Linked DNA regions of Homo sapiens: all the other regions are linked to region 1. Evidence: promoter capture Hi-C in human tissues and cell types (Jung and others, 2019). All regions are on one chromosome and are shown on one strand. The core of a region is centred on a gene start or on the middle of the fragment in contact, and the rest is flanking DNA. Distances in the headings are between cores, read along the strand shown. Region 1 holds the start of ZNF236 (zinc finger protein 236). Region 2 overlaps MBP (myelin basic protein). Region 3 overlaps MBP (myelin basic protein).

The links. The method cuts DNA at HindIII sites, captures the fragments that hold promoters and counts their contacts. A contact is called where the count stands out against the background at its distance.
Region 2: a contact is called between a fragment that was not itself captured here and the fragment with the promoter of ZNF236 in region 1, in 2 of the 25 tissues and cell types used here (lymphoblastoid cells and mesendoderm cells).
Region 3: a fragment that was not itself captured here is called in contact with the fragment with the promoter of ZNF236 in region 1 in 5 of the 25 tissues and cell types used here (H1 embryonic stem cells, IMR-90 fibroblasts, hippocampus and 2 more).

Annotation. Positions count from the first base shown.
Region 1 is chr18:76,820,775-76,824,787 of GRCh38, forward strand. ZNF236 (zinc finger protein 236) reads left to right here and starts at 1,783. Exons shown (of 31, transcript NM_001306089.2): 1 at 1,783-1,888. The coding sequence starts at 1,834. ZNF236-DT (ZNF236 divergent transcript) reads right to left here and starts at 1,521. Exons shown (of 3, transcript NR_040024.1): 1 at 1,242-1,521. RefSeq lists enhancers at 1,065-1,144, 1,185-1,294 and silencers at 1,365-1,554, 1,675-2,414. The HindIII fragment of the contact is 16,105 bases long and covers 1-4,013 here.
Region 2 is chr18:76,990,282-76,994,476 of GRCh38, forward strand. The region is part of intron 4 of MBP (myelin basic protein); the gene reads right to left. Among named protein-coding and RNA genes, the nearest start is that of MBP-AS1, 12 kb to the left of the region's middle. RefSeq lists an enhancer at 2,504-3,076. The HindIII fragment of the contact is 9,676 bases long and covers 1-4,195 here.
Region 3 is chr18:77,015,897-77,019,711 of GRCh38, forward strand. MBP (myelin basic protein) reads right to left here. Exons shown (of 9, transcript NM_001025101.2): 4 at 936-1,372. Among named protein-coding and RNA genes, the nearest start is that of MBP-AS1, 37 kb to the left of the region's middle. The HindIII fragment of the contact is 4,409 bases long and covers 1-3,455 here.

The DNA.
Region 1 (4,013 bases), core at 533-3,032:
AGTGCTGGCATTACAGGCGTGAGCCACCGCGCCCGGCCACACACACACTTCTTAAACTCACTTAACTCTAAAGGTACACACAGGAAAGAAAGCTGGTGGTGTTATTTACATATGAGGCAAAGTTGACAATAGCAAGCATTATTAGAAATAAAGAGGAACATTTCACAATTGGAAATATTCAAAAGAGCTGGAATACATTTGTCTTATTTAAGGCATAGAGAGAAGACTCGCATGGCTGTAGACAAAACTGATTGGAGGATGACCAGGTACTAGGCTGTATCTGTAATCTAGGTGAGAGAGCATGGCTCAGGGGTAATATACGTGGGAATGGCTTGGATTTGGTTTATATATTGGAGCTAGATCTTTGATGAGATTGAGTGAAGGCTGCAGTGGGAAAGGGTAAGCAAGAATGACTCCTAGACACCGCTCAGCAATAAAAAGCACTTAAAATATTTATCAATATATAGATGAATTCCAACATAATTATGCTCAATGAACAGCCCCCACTTCCCTAAAGATTACGTGCGATACAATTCCATTTATATAAAACACCAAGAAAAACAGGTTGGGCACAGTGGCTCACATCTGCAATCCCAACACTTTGGGAGGCTGAGGCAGAGGGTCAATTGAAGCTAGGAGTTCCAGAGCAGGCTGGGCAACACAGAGAGACCCCATATGTTTAAAAAAAAACAAAAAGCTAGACATGGCGGTCCTCACCTGCAGTCTCAGCTACTCGGGAGGCTGAAGCAGTTGGATTGCTTAAGGGCAGGAGTTTGAGGCTACAGTGGGTCCCGATCGTGTCACTGCACTCCCGCCTGGGTGACAGAGCAAGCGAGACCCAGTCTGTATAAAAAGATATTTAAAAACTCCAGGAAATTCAAACTATAGTGACAAAAAGCAGATGGGTGGGAGGGGGAGGAGGGAAGGAGGGAGAGAGGAAAGGGTTACAGAGAGACGGGAGGAACATCTTCACTGTTGATTGTGATGATGGTTTCACAGTGTATACATGTGTCAAGATGTATCAAACTGCACACTTTAATTTGCGCCACTGCACTCCAGCCCAGGTGACAGAGTAAGGTCGCTTTCCCCGGGCTCGGCCGGCCTCTCCACCCGGCGCTCGGGTGCTGCGCTGCCTGTTCCTGTTGCCACTTCGTGTAAGTTAGCGCAGGCAACAACACACAAGACCAGCACACGTGAAATGGTCCATTTTAATGCACTGCCCCCAGGGAAAGGAACATTACCGGCTTCTGGCCATGTCGTCTTCCCAGTCCCAGATGGCGGTTCCGGGTTTGGGCTCCGAGGCCCTTCGCAGCACTAGGGCGGCGCGAGTAGGGCCGCCCTCCGAGCCATGCTGCGGTCCGAGGTGACGCGCGCACGCGAGTTCGCGGACACGCACGAGACGCCCGGGCCACGGAGGCGCGGGGCTGGCCCAGGGTCCCCGCCAGGCCGAGCTCTAGGGCTGCCGGCCCGGCCCGGTGACCCCCGCGCTCCCCTCCGTCCGCTAAGGCCCCGCGGCGCCGCGCATGCGCCCCGCCGCCGCCCCCGCCCCCACCGCGCCCGCGCCCGCGCCCAACGCCCCCACCGCGGCCCGCGGGCCATGGAACCTGCCAAGGCCGGCGCGGTTCGAGCGCTCCGGTGCGCGCGTTCAGGCGCCTTTCCCCCGTGAGCCCGGCGGCGCTCGGACCGGGCCGCCCGCCGCCGGGCAGCTCCGCCCGCCTCTAGCGCCGGCTGGGCGCGCCCCCGCCCCGGTGCCCGCGCGTGCGCGCCCCCGCCGCCGCGTGTGAGTGTGAGTGTGAGTGTGAGTGGGTGTGGGTGCGAGCCGGGCCGCCGACGATGCCGCGGGGCCGCCCCCCGAAGCCCAGGGAGAGCAAGGCGCGCGGCGACTCCGGTAAGGCCCGCGGCCGCGCCCTCGCGCCCCGCCGGCGGCCGGTGCGGGGCCCGCGCCCTGCCAGTCCCCGGATGCGGCGCGGGGGGCGCCGGGAGCGGCGGGGCGGGGGCGGGGGCCGCGCAGACCCGGGCCGCCGCCGCCGCCGACTGGCCGGGCGGGCCGCAGCGCGGGCGGAATGATACGGGCGAGTCGCCGCCCGGCCCCTCCGCGCGCTGGGCCTACTTTCCTGGGCCGGGCGGCGGCTGAGGCGGGAGGCGGGAGGCGGGTGAGGGAGCAGGCGGCCGCCTCCTGCGCGCGCCCTGCCCCCGCTGGCCCTGCCGCGGCCCGCGCTGAACTTGAGGGAAAGTGGCCGCCCCGTGTTCCGTCCCGGGGCCGGAGGGCCGCGGGGCGCGCTGGGGAGGCGGCCTGGCCAGAGCCCGGGCCTGCGGATACCGCGCCCCGGGCTCCTCCCGGACGGCGCCCCCGCCCGACCCTGCGCGGCGCCGGCTGCCCCGGGGACGTTGGGCTCGGCCCACAGGGAGGCCGTGGAGCGCGGGGTCGTGCACACAGTAGGCGCCAGCGTTGTCCGGGAAGCGCAGGGTCGTGCACACAGTGTGCTCCAGTGTTATCTGGGGCGCGCTGTGGGGCGTGCATACAGTAGGCGCCATTGTGATCCGGGAACTTGAACCCTGAGCCTCTGCAGACGCTGTGGGTAGTGCATACAGTAGGCGCCATTGTGATCCGGGGGGCTGGAACCCTGGGCATCTGGAGAGCGCTGTGGGTCGTGCAAACAGTAGGCACCATTGTGATCCGGGTAGCTTGAACCTGGAGCTTCTGGAGAGCGCTGTGGGTCGTGCATACAGTAGGCATCAGTGTTATGTGGGGAGCGCTAGATCGTGCACACAGTAGGCGTCAGGAAGTGTTTTCCCCAGTAATTTATTCTCCATGGTACTTTGCTAAAGTCATGAAATAACTCAGATTTTGTTTTCCAAGGAAGGAGAAAGGCCCAGAATTTAAGAGCAGGCAGACACACAACCGGGCACCCCCAGACCCTGGCCCTTCCAGCAGTCAGGAATTGACTTGCCTTCCAAAGCCCCAGCCCGGAGCTTGAGGAACGGACTTTCCTGCGCAGGGGGATCGGGGCGCACTCGCCGGTGCCGCGGTTCCCAGGTCGAGGGCAGTGGGGTAGGGGGCGCCGCGCTTTTTCTCGCGGGCGCCGTGGTTCCCGTGCGGCCTTGGACGCGAGTCTCCCCCTGCAGGCCTGGTCCCTGGTCCTGGTCACCCGTGCAACTGGAGCGGCGCTCCGCGTTTGGAAAGGGTTTTGAAGGGGGTTCTAAGGGGGAGTGGGCGCCTAGGACTCCCTATGGGAGTCGGTGGGTTATACCTTGACTGCCGTTGATTTTTATTTAACTGTTTAGCTTAGTGACTCAAGTGTTCCCCTTTTCTTGGGGATGAGTAAACTGAGGCTCATTAAAGAGCTTGTGACCAAACAACACAGGTGCCCCAGAGAAAGGTCGGGCCTGGAAACTACAAAGGATTGTGTTAATTTTGTGTTTAGGAAGAAAGAGGTAATGGGTAGGAATCAATGTAAACTTATTCATAGGCCACACCAAACCAGGAATTCTTGTCGTGATTGCACTTGGTAGAGTTAACACACGTGCACATTACGGAAACGTTGGTGACCAACAGGCGTTTCAGCGAGCTTTCGCACACCTCATGGGCCTTTGTGGGCTGCTGGAGAGATGTTGGCTGCACCATGACCCAGGTATGCAGATTTGTAGTTGGATAACAGCAGTGCTCAGAATTTTGATTAATGGTTGATGGTGTCTGGCCTTTAAGGAAGTCTTTGTTGCCTCTCCCGCTTTTGAGTTTTGGCCTTGACCTTATTTCGTTAGTTTAATTGTTTTGTTAGTATGCCATCTGCCAAAAATAATGTAAGGTGCAGTGTCTCAGTTACTTGGAAGAAGGCTTAGGATAGAGAAAGAATGTAAAATTTCCACGGCCACAGGCGGGGCACCCATTCCCCCAGTATCCCCATCTCACCGATGGTATCCCTGTCCACCTGGTGTTTCACCCTCAGGCCTCAAGAATTATTCTATTTCTTTTATCCCCCAACACACTTCCTAATTTAGTGTTGCAGCTTCTA
Region 2 (4,195 bases), core at 1,468-3,967, 170 kb after region 1:
TTGTAGCAAAGCAGCAGGTGAGGATGGGGTTGGGAGGTGAAGAGTTAGAGGGGTAGGAAGGTGGGATGGTGTGCATTGCTCGGTGGGTGGAAAATTACTAAGAAGAGACATAAAGGGTAGGGAGGATTCTTGCTAAACTGGCCTAATATGATTCTTGCAGAAGGCAGGCCAAGATGATCCTATATCACTCAGGGGATGGTGAGGGATGAGGGATTTGATCAGATTTGGAGGGTGATCATATATCAAGATTGGGAAGATCCTGTCTAAACTAGCTTAGCAGGATTCTTGGTAAAACTGGACTAGGCAGGCTTGAGGACAAGGCCCATGGAGGAGGCTTAGTTGAAAAGAGGGCTTAGAAGAGCCTGTCTAAAGTTCAGTCAAGGAGAGTGTCTTTGTCACCTTTTAAACTTTGTCTATGCAAATTAGGGTGTGTGTGTGCTTGTTTGTGTGTGCGTGTAGGATGGTAGGTTGACAGGTGTACAACTAGTGATCTGGATTTTTTAAGGGCTTCTACTAGGAAGCCACAGATGAGCCACCAGACACACCTGGGGCAGCTACGGGCTGGCAGCAGCGGGTTTGGGTGTGCGACTTGCTGGGGAGAGATTTCTATCACCGACTCAGTGTGCGGCTCTCCTGAAGGTGAACAAGCAAATAGAGGGGAAGTGACGGTAATTCAAGGGGGATTCCATCTGAGATAGGGTCAGGTTGGGCAAAGCACTGAGAGAAAAATATTACTTATCCCCAGGCTTCTGGGCTGAATACAGGAAAATGCTCGGGAAATACACACAGAAAAACACACAACAGCATGAGGCAGGCAGCTCATGGGCTTTGACGCGGCTGCATAACATGAGCTGGTCTCTGCTTCTCAAAGTAAGTGTCTCACGCCACACTGACACCGGGCTGATTTGGGAATATCACTTCCACATCTCGAGTAAGAGGAAGCGGAGAGGGAAGAATGGCTGGGCATGAGTGCCCAGGGCCAGCTGGTAATCAACAGAACCAGAACACTCCAGGTCACTAGAGATCGCACAGAAGATACAGAGTGGTAAGCACTGCGAGAGGTTAGCTCACAGTGGAGGGAAGGGAAAAGCCATGAGCGCCCGGGGGCAGGGGAACACAGGGGACATGGGGGCAGGTGACACAGGGGACATAGGCGACGCAGGGGATGCTGCGGCTTTTGCAGACTTCATGCATTGTCTGCTCGGCTCTCAGCTCAACTGCAAAGGCCCAACAGCGGTGAATGCGCACCAGGCAAGAGGGCTGATTGTGAGTTCTCAGAAAAGCAAAGGAAAGGGACTCGGGGGAGCTTGCGAGATTGATTTTGTCAGTTTTCCCCTCGCTTTCTCACTGCTGCTCCCAGATGCTACTTGTTCAGAAATAGCCTGCATGTAAAGAGCCCACACCTCAGGCAGGAATGAATTTCTGGAGGTCAGAGGAGCTCTGGCCCCAGGCATGCTGGCTGCGCCCCGTCGACACAGAACGCAGCGGAAGCAAATCAGTTAAATGCACGGAAGTCAATTGAAGTATTTCCCTCCAGTCTGTCAGCTCTATGCACATTGATTGGGAGGACCCCTTGTTGTTCAGAAGACAGTTTTGCCACCAAAGGCCTAACTCGCCCTGAAAAGTGCGCTTTTCTGGGATTTATGGTAGTGCACGGAATGGTGGAATTCAGTGGGTGACAACTGCATGCTGCAGCCACAAAGGACAATGTTTGCAGAGTGTGCTGCGTTTCGCCCAGCACCGACATTGTTCACCTCTGTGTCTGAGCCCAGACGGGGGTCTCCACACGGCACACATCAGGTCTGAAGTTTTGCTGGCACTGGACTCTTTCCTCTGCCCTCCTTCCCTACTCGATCCTCTTCAAAGCAGCGGTTCCCAACCTTTTTGGCACCAGGGATGGGTTTTGTGGAAGACAGTTTTTCCATGGATGGGGGTGGGTAGGGGAACGTTTTTGGGATGAAACTGTTCCACCTCAGATCATCAGGCATTAGATTCCCATAAGGAGTGCACAACCTCGATCCCTCGAACATGCCATTCCCAGTAGGGTTTGCTCTCCTATAGGAATCTGGTGCCGCTGGCCTGACAGGAGGCAGAGCTCAGGAGATAATCTCACTCGCCCGCTGCTCACCTCCTGCTGTGCACCTCGGTTTCTAACAGGCCACAGAGCGGTACCGGTCCAGGGCCTGGGGGCTGGGGACCCCTTCTTTAAACGTTTCTTGCCCTCACCCCCAGACTACTAACAGCTCCCCTGCTGCCTGTGAGGCTCCCTGCCCTGCCCACCCTTCAGGGTGAAGCCAAAGCTCTTTGTCCCCTGGGCCCTAACGTGGTGAGGCTTCCTGTCCACCTTCCCAGCATTCAGCACCCAGAGCAGAGCAAGCTTCGGGAAACAGAAGCAACATGGATGTCCCTCTCCTTCCAGTGTCCTGTGGCCGCCCTTGCCTGCAGCAGGAGCCCTGTTATTCTGGGTGCTTCTGAGGGCCCTTCCCTCTGGCTGCAGCCCTGCCAGGAGCCAGAGCCCCAGCCCCAGCTCTCCTCCCACTTGCCCTGGCTGCTGAGCATCCATCCCCTGCCCTGGGCTGTGCCCCTATGCCCTGGCCCCGACCATCTTCCATGTGGATGGGCTGTGCATCCTCTGCCCTGGGCCTTGTGCAGGGTCCTTTCTGTCCACAAGGCCCTTCCTTCTCCCATCTGTCTGAAACCTCCGCAGGGCCCAGGGCAAAGGCATCTCCCATGCATAGGGCCTACTCAGCACTGCGAGCTCTGTTTTCTGCACCCCTTGCTCGTGGCCTCCCCTGTGACAGAGTTGCAGGCACAGCAGGGCGTAACCATGAGCTGCTTGTCCTTCTCTGCACTGGGCCTCATTACTTCCCAACTAAATGCCAGGGGCCAGGCATGGTCCACGTTCTGAAAATACCACAAAAGTGAAGCAGACAAAATTCCTGCCTGAGAGGTTTTGAATGCATGAGGAATGAAAGAGGGATCCCATTTTGGCTGGGTGTGGTGGCTCGTGCCTGTAATCCTAGCACTTTGGGAGGCCGAGGCGGGCAGATTGCCTGAGGTCAGGAGTTCGAGACCACCCTGGGCAATATGGTGAAACCCCTCTCTACTAAAATACAAAAAATTAGCCAGGCTTGGCGTCGTGTGCCTATAGTCCCAGCTTCAGGGGGCTGAGGCAGGAGAATTGCTTGAACCTCTGAGGCGGAGGTTGCAGTGAGCTGAGATTGCACCACTGCACTTCAGCCTGGGCGACAGAGCGAGACTTTGTCTCCAAAAAAAAAAAAAAAAAACAAAAGATCCCATTTTATCCCTTGGATTTCTTAGTAATCAGCAACTCCATATTTTCCTAGTTGTTTTTCCTATTTTGTGCCCTCGTTGGTTAACGATTCTCATTCCTGATGAGACTGTCAACCTCCCTCAGGCACAGAGCGCAGCTCCCATACTCTTCACAGAAGGCCACTGGCGCTCTGCCTGTGGCCGGCGCTTCATGGCGGGTACCCCTCTGTTTACTGACACCTCCACCTTCTCACACACAGAGGAGTGGAGTTTGCACGCTCAGTTTCCTCCCAGGCAGGTGCCGTGGGCCTTTGAACGTGAGGATGTCAGAAGGGCCAGGAACATCGGAGTCCTAGTAGAAATCCCTGATTCTTCATATTCCAACTCATTCTGTCTATGAATGCTGCAAGAACTCAAGTAATTCTCTGATTCTCCTTGTGTCATGTAATATTTTATCGAATGCTTCTCTGCGTTCAGTGACCAGTTGTATTTAGTCACCACTAACCAGCCTTGTACGTTCTTCTCCTCCATGAGAGGGGGTGTGAAATCGTGAATCAAAAAACAAAATGGAAGAGACGGGAAACTCTTTAAACTGTAAGACGTACATCTTTAAGTGCTGTGTCTACCAGACGAAGTTACTTATTAGCTCCTACTCCAGTGGCCTGAAATCACTGAAACAGCTCACAGTCCAGGGCAAGCCACACCGCCTCGGTGTTTGGATAGCATTTCTCCATTTCTCTACATGCTGAACTTTGGTTTTTGAGTCACATAAACATTTCTGGCCTTTAAATCACTCATCCTGTGATTAAACTAGAAAAATGACTTAAACTTTTTAAGTTTCTAAAGAAAAAACTTAGGGTTAGGTTAGGTTTCTAAAGAAATGAATGCTCAGTCACGCTATGCAGATCTCAGAGGATTTTAC
Region 3 (3,815 bases), core at 1-2,500, 190 kb after region 1:
CCCTGCACACAGGCAGAAAAACAGCTTCATCTTACAGGTTGTGTGAGAACACCCAATAAACTAGGGACTTTTTTGGGAAAAACTTCTTTCTCTCCAAAATTACACAACCACCAAACACTCTAAACATCACGTAAAATACTGCATCTGCAATCTGAATGGCACTCAGGGACCAGCGCTTTGATGAACCAGCAGCCACAGGTTCTCCACTGACAATCAACTGCAGAAACCACTCCTAGACTCTGGACCCCATAGCAGAGTTTTTTTTTTTTGTAATACATTTTTATCCACATTTGCTTTTGAATAAAGAAACTTCTAAGACTCTGTATGCAAATTAATGGAATCACAAGATAATAAAGCTTTGATTCATAGACACTCATTTATCCCTCCCCCCTTCCACTTCTCAGACCACAGAGAACGTTTGCTCAAGGCGGATTTAAATTGAGGAGTTTGTTCAAAAGTCTTCCTCGACCTCAATCCTATGATTGTCGCAGAGCAACATGAAGCTAGCAGCACTGACTCCAGGAAAAAACGAGCATAACCCAGTGTTGAACCCCAGCGTGTGGGCTGCAGAGGCAACATCAGTCATCAAGTCCGCAAGCACACACCACCAGAGACCCTGAGAATGTGGCTCTCTTTCTGCAACGCCCATGTCCAGGCACCCTTAGAGATCCAGAATTCAGCATGTCCTTACATTCCTGAGCCACACCCCGGCCACCATCCCTTGTGAGGAAAAGAGGGGGTGAGTTAAACGAAAACGTCCTAAGCAGCCACTCAGGCCCACACTCTTGGGCTCATATGCATTCTCCAGCACGGAACGAGACCTTAGACAGCAAGAGGCTACGTGCCAGTTCTTCCTCTAATGGCTGAGTTCACCTACTGATTTCTCCTTTGCTTTTTCCATTTAAACTAAAACTCCTCTACTCCTCAGAGCTCACCTTGCCAGAGCCCCGCTTGGGCGCACCCCTGTCACCGCCAAAGAAGCGCCCGATGGAGTCAAGGATGCCCGTGTCTCTGTGCCTTGGGAGGAAGCCATGCCTGGCATGGTCCATGGTACTTGCTGTGGCCAGGTACTTGGATCCGTGCCTCTGGGAGGGTCTCTTCTGTGACGCCATCACATCCAGGCTCTCGGAGGTGGCTGCACTGTCTTCTTGGATGGTCTGGAGCTCGTCGGACTCAGAGGGCCTGTCTTTGAAGGTGTTGTCCTCCCTCCCCGGGGCATCTCGGGAAAAGAGGCGGATCAAGTGGGGGCGGCTCCCTGGGTCAGCTGGGTGGGCATCCTGCCAGGCATTCTTCGGGTCCGCTGTGCGCTTGGAGTCAGTCACCGCTGTGTCCTGAGAGGAGGTCCCATTGTTCTGGTTCGCATCTGCCTCTCCTGCAAACAACAATGAGATATGAATACGGGCCTGTGCAAAGCTGAGCACCGGACAAAGCAGCTTTCTCTGAGGGGTCTTGACCTAGCTGTCTCCTATAAAACCCACAGAATATGTGCAGTCCTCATAAAGCCCTTGGCCTAGGATGGAGCTAACCTGGATGGAGCAGCCTTATTGCAGCTCTGTGTTTCAGAAGGCTCTGGGAATTCCTCAGTTACTCGAGATTTGGCACCCAGCGTAAAATGCACCCAGGCTTCCCGATGAAGTCATCTGAGCATGCAGAGCAGCCACATCAGCGTTTCTTCCCGGGTGCTGCCATGGCTGCTCCCGGAGAGCCCAGATGTGCAGGCACCTTGATGGGACATTGACTGTTTAAAAGGCCACTGGTGCATAAGTTAAATATGCAAGGAGCATTTATTTGACAAAAGGTGTTTTTAGTTTTCTTGGTAGAAACAAAACTTGCCACATCTTTTTGCAATTCATGCATGAAAGAAGTGGGGCATTTAGAATTGTTTCAATCCCAGATTCCACAAGAGGCCTCTCACAATAGAGAACTGCTTATTCAGGACATTTTGACTTGGCTTCTCCTCTGGAAGCAGAAACAATTAGAAATCTGAAGTGGGATTGAGATATTTCATGTTGTATACCAGCATCTCATAGCTTTCTCCAAAAAATACCACATTTCTGTCACGAAGGGCAATGAATCCATTTTGCTTTCAAGTTAGAGTGTTAGGTTTAAATAAATATCATTTAGTTAGTTTCCTCTCCAAACTCTATTACTTATCTACAGAAAACAGGATTCACTCACATATTCCTGTAATACCAGTCATCCATCTATCTCTCTATCCATTCATCCATCCATCCACATAACAGTCCATTTACCCATCCATCCATCTATCCATCCATCCATACACACACCCACCTACCCATCCATCCATCCATGCATCCATCCATCCCCCATCCACTCATCCATCCGTTCACCCATCCACCCACCCCTCCATCTATCCACTCATCCATCCATCCACTCATGCATCCATCCATCCACATATCAGTCCATTTACTCATCCATCCATCTATCCATCCATCCATACACATACCCACCTACCCATCCATCCATCCATCCCCCATCCACTCATCCATCCACCCACCCACCATCTATCCACTCATGCATGCATGCATCCATCAATTCATCCATTCGTCATCCATCCATCCACATATCAGTCCATTTACCCATCCATCCATCTATCCATCCATCCATACACACACCCACCTACCCATCCATCTATCCATCCCCCATCCACTCATCCATCCATTCATCCATCCACCCACCCCTCCATCTATCCACTCATCCATCCATCCATCCATCCATCCATCCACATATCAGTCCATTTACCCATTTATCCATCTATCCATCCATTCCATCCATCCCCCATCCACTCATACATCCATTCATCCATCCATCCACCCCTCCATCTATCCACTCATCCATCCATCCATCCATCCATCCATCCATCCACATATCAGTCCATTTACCCATTTATCCATCTATCCATCCATCCATCCATATATCCACCCATCCATCCATCCACTCATCCATCTATCCATCCATCCATCCATCCATCCATCCATCCATCCATCCATCCATCCACTCATGTATTCATCCATTTACCTACCTGTTCATCCATCCATCTATCCATTCATCCATCCATCCATCCATCCATCCATCCATCCATCCACTCATGTATCCATCTATTTACCTACCTGTTCATCCATCCATCCATCCATCCATCCATCCATCCATCCATCCATCCATCCATTATTTATGAGTACCAAATAGGTGTAATGTACCATTCTAAATATCTGAGTTACAGTGATTGTAATTCACGAGGTCCTTGTCCTCGTGAAACCTACATTCTAGTGGGGAAAGCAGGTGAAAATGTATGTTATGGATTGAATAGTATCCCTCCAAATGATATGTCCATGTCCTAACTTCTGTACCTGTGAGTGTGACCTTATTTGGAAATAGATCTTTGCAGGTGGAATCAAGTGAAGATGAGGTCATTCTGCAGTAGGGTGGGCCCTACTCCAATCACTGGTGTCCTTGTAAGAAGAGAGCAGTTTGGACACAGCCACAGATGCACAGGGGAGAGGTGTGAAGATGGAGGAGGAGCCTGGAGGGGGGCATCTACAAACCTCAGAACACCAAGCACTTCTGGCACCACCAGGAGTAAGAGACATGGAGCAAATTCTCCTGTAGAGCCTTCGGGGGAAGCAGGGCTCTGCAGACATCTCAACTTGAGCTTTCTGGCCTTCACAATGGTCACAGAAGAATTCCTGTAGTTTGAAGCCCCCAGCATATGGTAATTTGTCTTGGCAGCCCCAACTCATGCAATGTGCAACTTCACATCAGGCAAGAGAACAGGAAAGCAGAGAGGGCTTGGGTCA